Regions from separate parts of the Homo sapiens genome. Here region 1 is linked to region 2. The links are contacts of gene promoters, found by promoter capture Hi-C in blood cells and fetal thymus (Javierre and others, 2016). All regions are on one chromosome and are shown on one strand. Each heading gives the region's core, a stretch centred on a gene start or on the middle of the fragment in contact. The rest is flanking DNA. Distances are from core to core; before and after follow the strand shown. Region 1 overlaps BEAN1 (brain expressed associated with NEDD4 1). Region 2 holds the start of BEAN1 (brain expressed associated with NEDD4 1).

The links. Contacts are between HindIII fragments. The CHiCAGO score rates a contact against its expected background, and 5 or more counts as called.
Region 1: a contact is called between a fragment that was not itself captured here and the fragment with the promoter of BEAN1 in region 2, in 12 of 17 cell types (naive CD4 T cells, total B cells, activated CD4 T cells and 9 more). The highest score is 8.4, in naive CD4 T cells.

Annotation. Positions count from the first base shown.
Region 1 is chr16:66,460,068-66,464,277 of GRCh38, reverse strand. All of the region lies in intron 2 of BEAN1 (brain expressed associated with NEDD4 1), which reads right to left. It also overlaps the pseudogene LOC107984807. Among named protein-coding and RNA genes, the nearest start is that of BEAN1-AS1, 14 kb to the left of the region's middle. The HindIII fragment of the contact is 1,135 bases long and covers 2,006-3,140 here.
Region 2 is chr16:66,426,045-66,429,985 of GRCh38, reverse strand. It overlaps BEAN1 (brain expressed associated with NEDD4 1), which reads right to left and starts at 2,691. Exons shown (of 5, transcript NM_001178020.3): 1 at 2,555-2,691. RefSeq lists an enhancer at 1,263-1,863. The HindIII fragment of the contact is 13,321 bases long and covers 1-3,941 here.

The DNA.
Region 1 (4,210 bases), core at 1,324-3,823, 34 kb before region 2:
GAAAGACATCCCATGTTCATGTTTCAGAAGACTAAATATTGTTAAGATGACAATACTCCCCAAATTCATCTGAAGATTCAACACAATGCTGATCAAAGTCCCAGCCTTCCTTGCAGAAACCGAAATGATCTTAAGCTGATCTTAAAATTCATGTGAAAATTCAAAGGACCAAACGTAGCTAAAATAACCTCAAAAGAAGAACAAAGTTGGAGGGGACGCATTTCCTGATTTCTAAACTTACTACAGAGCTACTATGATCAAGATAGTGTGGTACTAGCATGGAGATAGACATATAAATAAATGGACTAGAATTGAGAGTTGAGAAACAGACCCTCATATTTATGGTCAGTGGATTTTCAGCAAGGGTGCCAAGACAATTAAATGGAAGAAAGAATAGTCTTTTCAACAAATGGTGTTAGGACAACTGAATGCTTACATTCAAAAGAATGAAGTTGGATTCCCTACATAATATACAAAAATTAACTGAAAATGGATTAAAGACCTAAATGTATGACCTAAAACTATAAAACTCTTAGATAAAAACATAGGGGTAAGTTGTCATGATTTTGGATTTGGCAAATGATTCTTAGATACGACACCAGAAGCACAAGAAGCAAAAGAAAAATAGATAAACATCAAAATTAAAAACTAGTGCAGCAAAGGACACCTTCAAGAAAGTGAAGAGACAGTCGGTAGAATCGGAGAAGATATTTGTGTATCACTTATCTCATAAGGGACTTTTACCTAGAATATGTAAAGAGCTCTTACAACTCAATAATAAAAAGACAACCCAATTAAAAAAATTGTCAAAAGATCTGAACAGACATTTCTCCAAAGAAGATACAATTGGCCAGTAAGCACATGAAAAGTTGCCCAACATCATTAACCATCAGAGAAATGCAAATCAAAGCCACAATGAGATACCATTTCACACCCAGTAGGATGGCTATAATCAAAAAGACAGATAATGCCAAGTGTTGGTGAGGATGTGGAGAAATGGAAACCCTTATAAACTGCTGGTGGGAATGTAGAATGGTACAGCTGCTTTGTGAACACAGACTGGCAGTTCTCAAATGGTTAAACATAATTATCACATGATCCAGCACTTGCACTCCTAGGCATATACCCAAGAAAAATGGAAACATAAGTCCACACAAAAATGTGTACATGAATATTCATGAGTATTACTCATGGTAGTCCCGCAAAGTACATGGTGCACAGCTGCCTCTTTCTCATCCTTTAGAGCTTTCCTTAAAAGTCAGCTCCTCAGACAGGTTGCTCCTGACTGACCTCTACCCCACTATATATCATGCCATGTGTTTTCTTTGAACAGCAGTCATCACAATCCCTAAACATCCTGCTTATTTATTTGTTTACTTGTTTATTAAATTGTGATGTCTTTGGATTCCCTGTCCACCTCATTTGATTGTTAGATCTTTGAAGGCAGATATCCCATCTGTCCTGACTTTTTTTTTTTTGAGACAGTTTTGCTTTTGTTGCCTAGGCTGGAGTGCAATGGCGCGATCTCAGCTCACCGCAACATCTGCCTCCTGGGTTCAAGCAATTCTCCCGCCTCAGCCTCCCAAGTAGCTGGGATTATAGGCATGTACCACCATGCCCAGCTAATTTTGTATTTTTAGCAGAGACAGGGCTTCACCATGCTGGCCAGGCTGGTCTCGAACTCCTGACCTCAGGTGATCCACCCGCCTCGGCCTCCCAAAGTGCTGGGATTACAGGTGTGAGCCACTGCCCCTGGCCTTGTCCTGACTCTTTTATTGCATGAATCTGCAGCGCCCAGCCAGGTGCTGGGCACATAATAGGTGCTCATTAAATATTTGTTGGGTGACTGAGTGAACTGCAGAAAACTTAGTTGGCTCTGTGTCTGTCTCTTCATTAGTCTAGAATTCAGTTTCTTCTCTATTTTTTGACTGATTGTGACAGCTTGAGTTTTGGATGAAGTGCCAACCTCTAATTTTTATTCCCTTGGCTACTGTAAACTAAAGCTTGTAATTTTTCTTCAAGACTCACAGAGAAAAGGTGGCAAGGTGAGGCTCTCCTCCATCTTTTTCTTGTAGGCAAATGGAGTCAGTTTAATTTGGCTTGTTTGACCTCAACTTAGGAGAAATCTAGTCCTTGTCTGGTGAATCTATAGCATACCTGCCACCACTTTCTAAGTCTATGCCAATGGCAGACATTACTAATTGACCATGGTTCTCTTTCCAGTTCAGTTCAGAAGGCAGACTCAGCATCCTTCTCAACACAGCACTCCATGCTGTGACTACAACTGGCTAGAGCTGGTTATGAAATGGAGCTTTTGGCTACCACTCATCTAGCATGATCCCGGTTCTCCCTGCTACCACTCCTGAGCCAATGGCCACTCTGATTGCTCTCTGTCATGCGTCCTCTCACCTTCAGAGCCCAGGGCAGGACTTGGGAGTGTTAGGGACACCAGCCCTCCTTAGGGAGGGTAGTGTGAGGGGTTCACACTCTGTAGAATAGTGGGCTGGCTCCAAGAGTCTTGTCCCCGATGGGGCTCTGGAATGTCTTCTGACCCCAGATGTGGGTTGGGACACACTGGTCACCCCATGATCCCCCATGACCCCTGGCCATGGCAGGGTTGCAGGTGCTTAGATTGCAAACCTAGAGTTGGATGTGCGTGCGTTTGTGTGTGTGTGTGTGTGTGTGTGTGTGTGTGTGTGTGTGTGTGTCTGCGCCTGCCTGCCCTGCACAGCACGCAGAACCTGCCTCTGGGACCAGCCCCATGGGGTCACCTTGAAGATGCCTCTCCCTTCACCTGCGTCAGCAGCAGATGAGAGCCTTGCCCTTGTCTAGCAGCACCAGGCTCATTACCAGATGGGCGGGAGATGGCATCACCCATGCCTGCAAGATGGAGCCAGCTGGTGCAGGCATCCGCCTGCTTGGACAGCTAGGAAATTAATCTCCCAGTCACCACAACCGGCAGAGGTAGGCGCTGCTTTAAATTATGAGGGAAATTCTTCCAATTTCCAAAACAAGGGCCTATTTTATCAAAAAGATAAATATGACTGCAGAGAAATAACATGATGACAATCCCCCTTCCCACCCCCGGTCTCCCTGTCCCCCTGTACCAGCTGCAGCAAGGATAGAAGATGAAACAAGCTTTGCCTCCTTCCTGGACTTTCTTCCCAAGCAGTTTCTATAAAGGTGCTCATGATCCAGTGGAAACCTCAAAAAAATAGGCTCTTCTCTGAGATACCACCTCCCCCCCAATGCCAGCATGAGTAATTACCATCTCCTGAGCACCTACTGTATTGTATGCCTTACACCATACGTGGTACTTGTCATGCACCACATTATCTCATTTAATCCTCATGATGGTCTATAATGGGATTCCCCAGTTAACAGGTAAGGAAACAGCCTCAGAGAGGTTAAGTAACTTTCCCAAGGTCACACAGCCCCACAGATAGAGACCTGGGTCAGTGAAAAACTGAAGCCCTGTGCTCTTAGCCAATATGCTATTCTGTGGCTACCAGGCACCATGCACTGGGAGTTCTGGTTTCTTAACTCTTGTGAAGGGAGAATGCTCTTCTCCCCAAAATGATGTTTTGCTTCTTCTGAGCCACTTGATATATAGCCAGAGCCAGCCATGACCTGGGGCTATTCAGGATGAAGGTGTATCAACAGCTGAACATTGCCATAAGATACCAGGATTCCAGAGATGGGAGCCTGTGTGTCTCAGAAAGAGATGGGCCACAGCAGGCAGGTGCCTGGGGAGAAGCAAATCATCCAGGGATGTGCGAGGACCTCCTGTTCTGTATCTGTTCTATCTCTGGGTATGTCCTAGAGATGTTCTAGATTGCAGGTAGGGACCCTTGGGTGATTTTACTGAGGAAGAACAATGATAAAGATAAGATAGCTCTCACTGACAGCACTTACTGTACATCCATCAGGCTCTAAACTCTTTTCATGCATGCTTCTCTCATTTAATCTTCACAGCAGCCCTGAGAGGTGGAGAGTGTCTTTCCTCCATCTTACAGAGAGGGAAGCTGAGCACAGAGCTGGTTAAAGTGGTGAGCCTGGAATGCTCTTTGCAATTCCTGAACTGGCACTCTCCAGCGCTCTGGTTCCACAGGGACTGAGAACACCAGGAGGGTGGGGCCTGTGTCTCTCTCTCTTGTCACCCCATCTGCCTAGGATACTGGGCAGGGCCAGTGCAGAGAGGAAGCTCAGG
Region 2 (3,941 bases), core at 1,442-3,941:
GGCTGACAGCAGATGCCCCTCACCCTATCCTCTGAGTACTTCCAGGGCAAGAGTTTCAGACAATGGTCCTCTGAGGGTGTCCGGCTGATTATTCCTAAAGCCTGACAGTAATGCCTGCATCCCCGTCACATTCCCCACTGGCTGTGTTCCAAATCCTGAGCGAAGCAGGAGACTCAAGCCTAATTAGTTCCTGATTAACTCCTTTGGGAAGATGAGGAGTGAGGATTTTGGAAGACACAGCGACGTGACCCCTAGTGGGTGAATGGGGAAGGGGAGGGGGAAGCTACAGAGGAAGAAGAGGAGAGAGGGAGATTCCGTGTAGGAGGCCCCAGGTGGCAGCTCATCTTGCCTGTCTTACCAGGTGTACCCTGGCACCATGTGGACATGTTTCCTCATCTGAGATTCCTCCCCCATCCCTGTTCTGGGCAGCTGGGCCAGAACACCCACACAGCACAGGTGGCCAGGGACCAACATGGGTGTGAACTGGACCACTGCTTTCTTCCCATCACTCCTGCCCGCCCACCCGCTCCTTGCCACCTCCAGGATCCCAGCATCCTCCCCTATCCCCTGGGCCTATGCCCTGCTCTGCTCTGGGTCTAAGGTCCCAGCCACACAGACTGGAGCAAATCCCTTCCTGGGGACACCCTGCTCTGAAGTTTGAACCTCTCAATCACTGGCTCCATTTCCTCCCCGACATCCTTCATTTCTGGTGCCTCATGGCCCAGTTGCCTGGACGAATACATCATAGTCTGCGAAGAATCAAGGCTGGGACCCCTCAGACCTCTAGGCTGTCTCCCTGGTGCTTCTTGCTGCCTGTCTGAACCGTCACCATCGGTGTGTCCAAGCCACCTGACAGCCTGATGGCTCCTCAGGGAAAGCAATCCTCCACCCGGGAGTGGAGGGAGGTGTTAAATTCCCTTGTACGGAGCTCGAGCAATGGGTGGGTGCCCCTCTCTGGGGCAGCGGACATCAGCTAAGGGCAAGGAGGAAAAGGGTGCACCTTACAGTCAGATGCAGCCTTTTCACCCTGGAGAGAGATGGGAGGTAGCAGGGGAGAACTGGGCTGGGCGGTAGAGAGCCTTGGAGGAGGGAGCGTCTGAGAAAGGGTGGGCCCTAAGGAGAAAGTTTTGCTTTGCAATTAAATGTCAACAGCTTGGGGAATTCAAAGGCCTCCTTGGAGGGGGCTGGGAGCACCACTTCAGATTCAGAGGCACTGAATCTCAGCATCTACTGGTGCTGGACACCTCAGGACACCTGTAGCCCACCACAATTGGCCACTGGCTGCGTGCCAGGCACCAGGCTACATACCCTCACCAGCATCATCTCATTTAATCCTCCCAACTCACCTTCCCCATGTTCCAGATGGGGAAACTAAGGCTCAGAGAGGTTTGTGTCTTGCTTAAGGTTGTACAGCCAGGAAGTCAGCCAAGCCCACCTTCTGGTTCCAAATCCCTTAAACATCCCGCTCACAACAGACTCCTGCTTACTTTCAGATGAGGAAACTGAGGCACAGGGTGGTGAAGTCTCTCGTTCCAGCAGAGCAGTTATGTTTGAGGAGTGAGTCCAGAGCGGCATGCTCTCGGCAGGGGCTCATCGGAAATCGTGGCTCAAGAGCAAGGATCCCTGAACCCCTGCCTCTCACACCAGTTACTTGCGCCCTCCCTTTCCCAGCCTGCGCCCCGCCACCCACGCCGGCACCCGCCCGAGATGGACAGGGCAGTCCCTGGTCCTCACCGCTCTCCAGCCTCCAGACCGCAGAGCCCGATAGGGAAGGAGGAAGGGCAGCGAGAGTCAGCCGGGTGTGGGGTGGGCCCTGCCCCTGGGGAGCGGCGGCGGTGCCACTCAGCGCTGCGCAGCCAGCCTGAGCTGCCTGCCGCCTCGCCTCGTACTCAGCCTCGGGTCCCTCTGACAGCGCAAGGGAAAGTCTGTCCCAAAGTGGGAGAAGGTGCGGAGGGCGCGCTCTCTCTCCGACGCTCGGTGCTGAGACAGAGGCACGGAGACAGGGGCATACCCCAGGCGACCTGCTCGTCGAAGGGTCAAACTTCCTAGCTCAAAGGGGTGCGGGTGGGTTCAAACTCCAAACTCCGTGAAGCCCCAGCCCCTTTCCTCTCCCACCCCGACCGAGAGTGCGCCCTAGTTTTCCCTTCTTGGTTGGGTTGTTCAGGGGTCCCCGAAACCGAGGGCAAGCTGCTGGGGAGGCTGTCTTGGGTTCCCCAAATGCGGTTGATGCTCGTCGGGGACTCGAGTCAGGCAGAAAACCTGGATACCTCCCCTTCCCCGAGGCCCGAGGGCGCGATCAGGGTCAGCCTCGGCTCGCGCAGATCCCAGTGGCCAGCCCGGGGTCGAGGGTCCGCGGGAGACCCGGGATCCCGCTCCGTTCCGAGCGCGCTGCGGTTCCGTTCCGGACCGCGCATCCGCCCGCCCCGCGCACCGAGGCTCCGCGCGGCGCGCCCCCGGGTGTGTCGTTCGCCGGTACCACCGCAGAGCGCGGGGGAATGGGGCCGGGACCCCCCGCCCGCCCCTCCCCCGCGCCGCCCAGCCCCACGCCCCTTACTCGGCTTGGCTGCAGCGCTCCGCTCCGTGCGCCGCAGTGCCGGCTCCAGCTTCGGCTCCAGCTCCGGTTCCCGCCCCGGCTCCGGCTCCCAGTCCGGTTCCCGCTCGGAGGCCACTGCGCTCGGGCTCGGGCGTCGCGGGGGGCGCGCCGCTACGCTTCGGCCTGCTGGGCGCGCAGGGGCGGGGCGGGGCGGGCCAGGCGGGGCCAGGCGAGCCGGGCCGACCAGCCGCCCGCGATCCCGGGCCGAGGCAGCGGCGGCGGCGGCTTCCCAGGCCCCGGCCCTGGCCCTGGCCCTGCCCTGCCGCAGCCCCGCCCGGCCGCCCGTCGTCCCCGCGCCGCCGCCCACGCCACCGTCACCGGCCCCGGCCCCCCTCGGCGGCGGCGCGGCTCCCGGGCCTCAGCACCGCGGCGCCGCGGCCCGGGTCACTCCGAGATGCGGGGCGGGGGGCGCGGGTGCGGGGGAGGGCCGAGCCGCGCCCCTTTGCGCACAGCCAGCCCGACACCCACACAGCAGCAGGCGGGGCAGGGCGGCGAGGAGGCCGGGAAATGCGGGAGGCCGACGCTCCAGTCAGACGTGTGAAGAGGACACACAGGCGTGTGTAGGGAATGACACACGGACGCGAGCGGGGAGCCACTGACACGTGCAGAGAAGGGTAGACAAACGAGGTGTCAGGGAAGGACAGCCAGACAGGTTGGACCGAGGCTAGGCTGGGCATTTGAGCAGGGGACCCCTGTCGCGGGCAAAGAGCAAAGTGCGGGATGGAGAGGGGGACCCAGCGTGGCTGGGCCGCTGGCAGGGGCAGGCGAGCCTGGCAGGGCTTCCCGCTCGCGGTTGCTGGCAGGTGAGTTTTGGGATTCCAGCTAGGCCTGGCCCAAACCTTCCTTCGGAGCCACCAGCAGGCCTGTTTCCTTCACCCCGTCACCCTCCCTGTGCCCCCGTTCCCCGCTGCCCAAACGTCAGGGCATAGGGCTCAGCCCTGGCAGGTGGAAGCCGGCCCCGAGGGGATGCCTGGCTCAGGCCGGGGTTCCAGGCTTCCAGGACCTGCTCTGTCCCCACCCTGCTTTGGGGCCTTGGACGAATCCCAGCCCATCTCTCAGGCCTCCCTGTCCTCATTAGGATATTGCTCCCAATGATTGCACCCCTACTGTGTTGGGGTGCTCGCCAGCGTGGAGGAGTTATTTATTTAACCTCCGCCACTTGCCTGGGAGCGCCAGGAGGGCAGCGTCTGGGTAGGGCTGCAGGGGTCTGCACAGAGTGGGCACTCAGTGAATTTGCTGCAGGAATTGATGAAATGTGTTGTTGCTAACACTCTCTGAACCACTACTGTTGATGAGGAAACTGGGGCTTAGGAGGCAAGGGGAGTCAAAAGCTGGGTTCGTTTCAAAA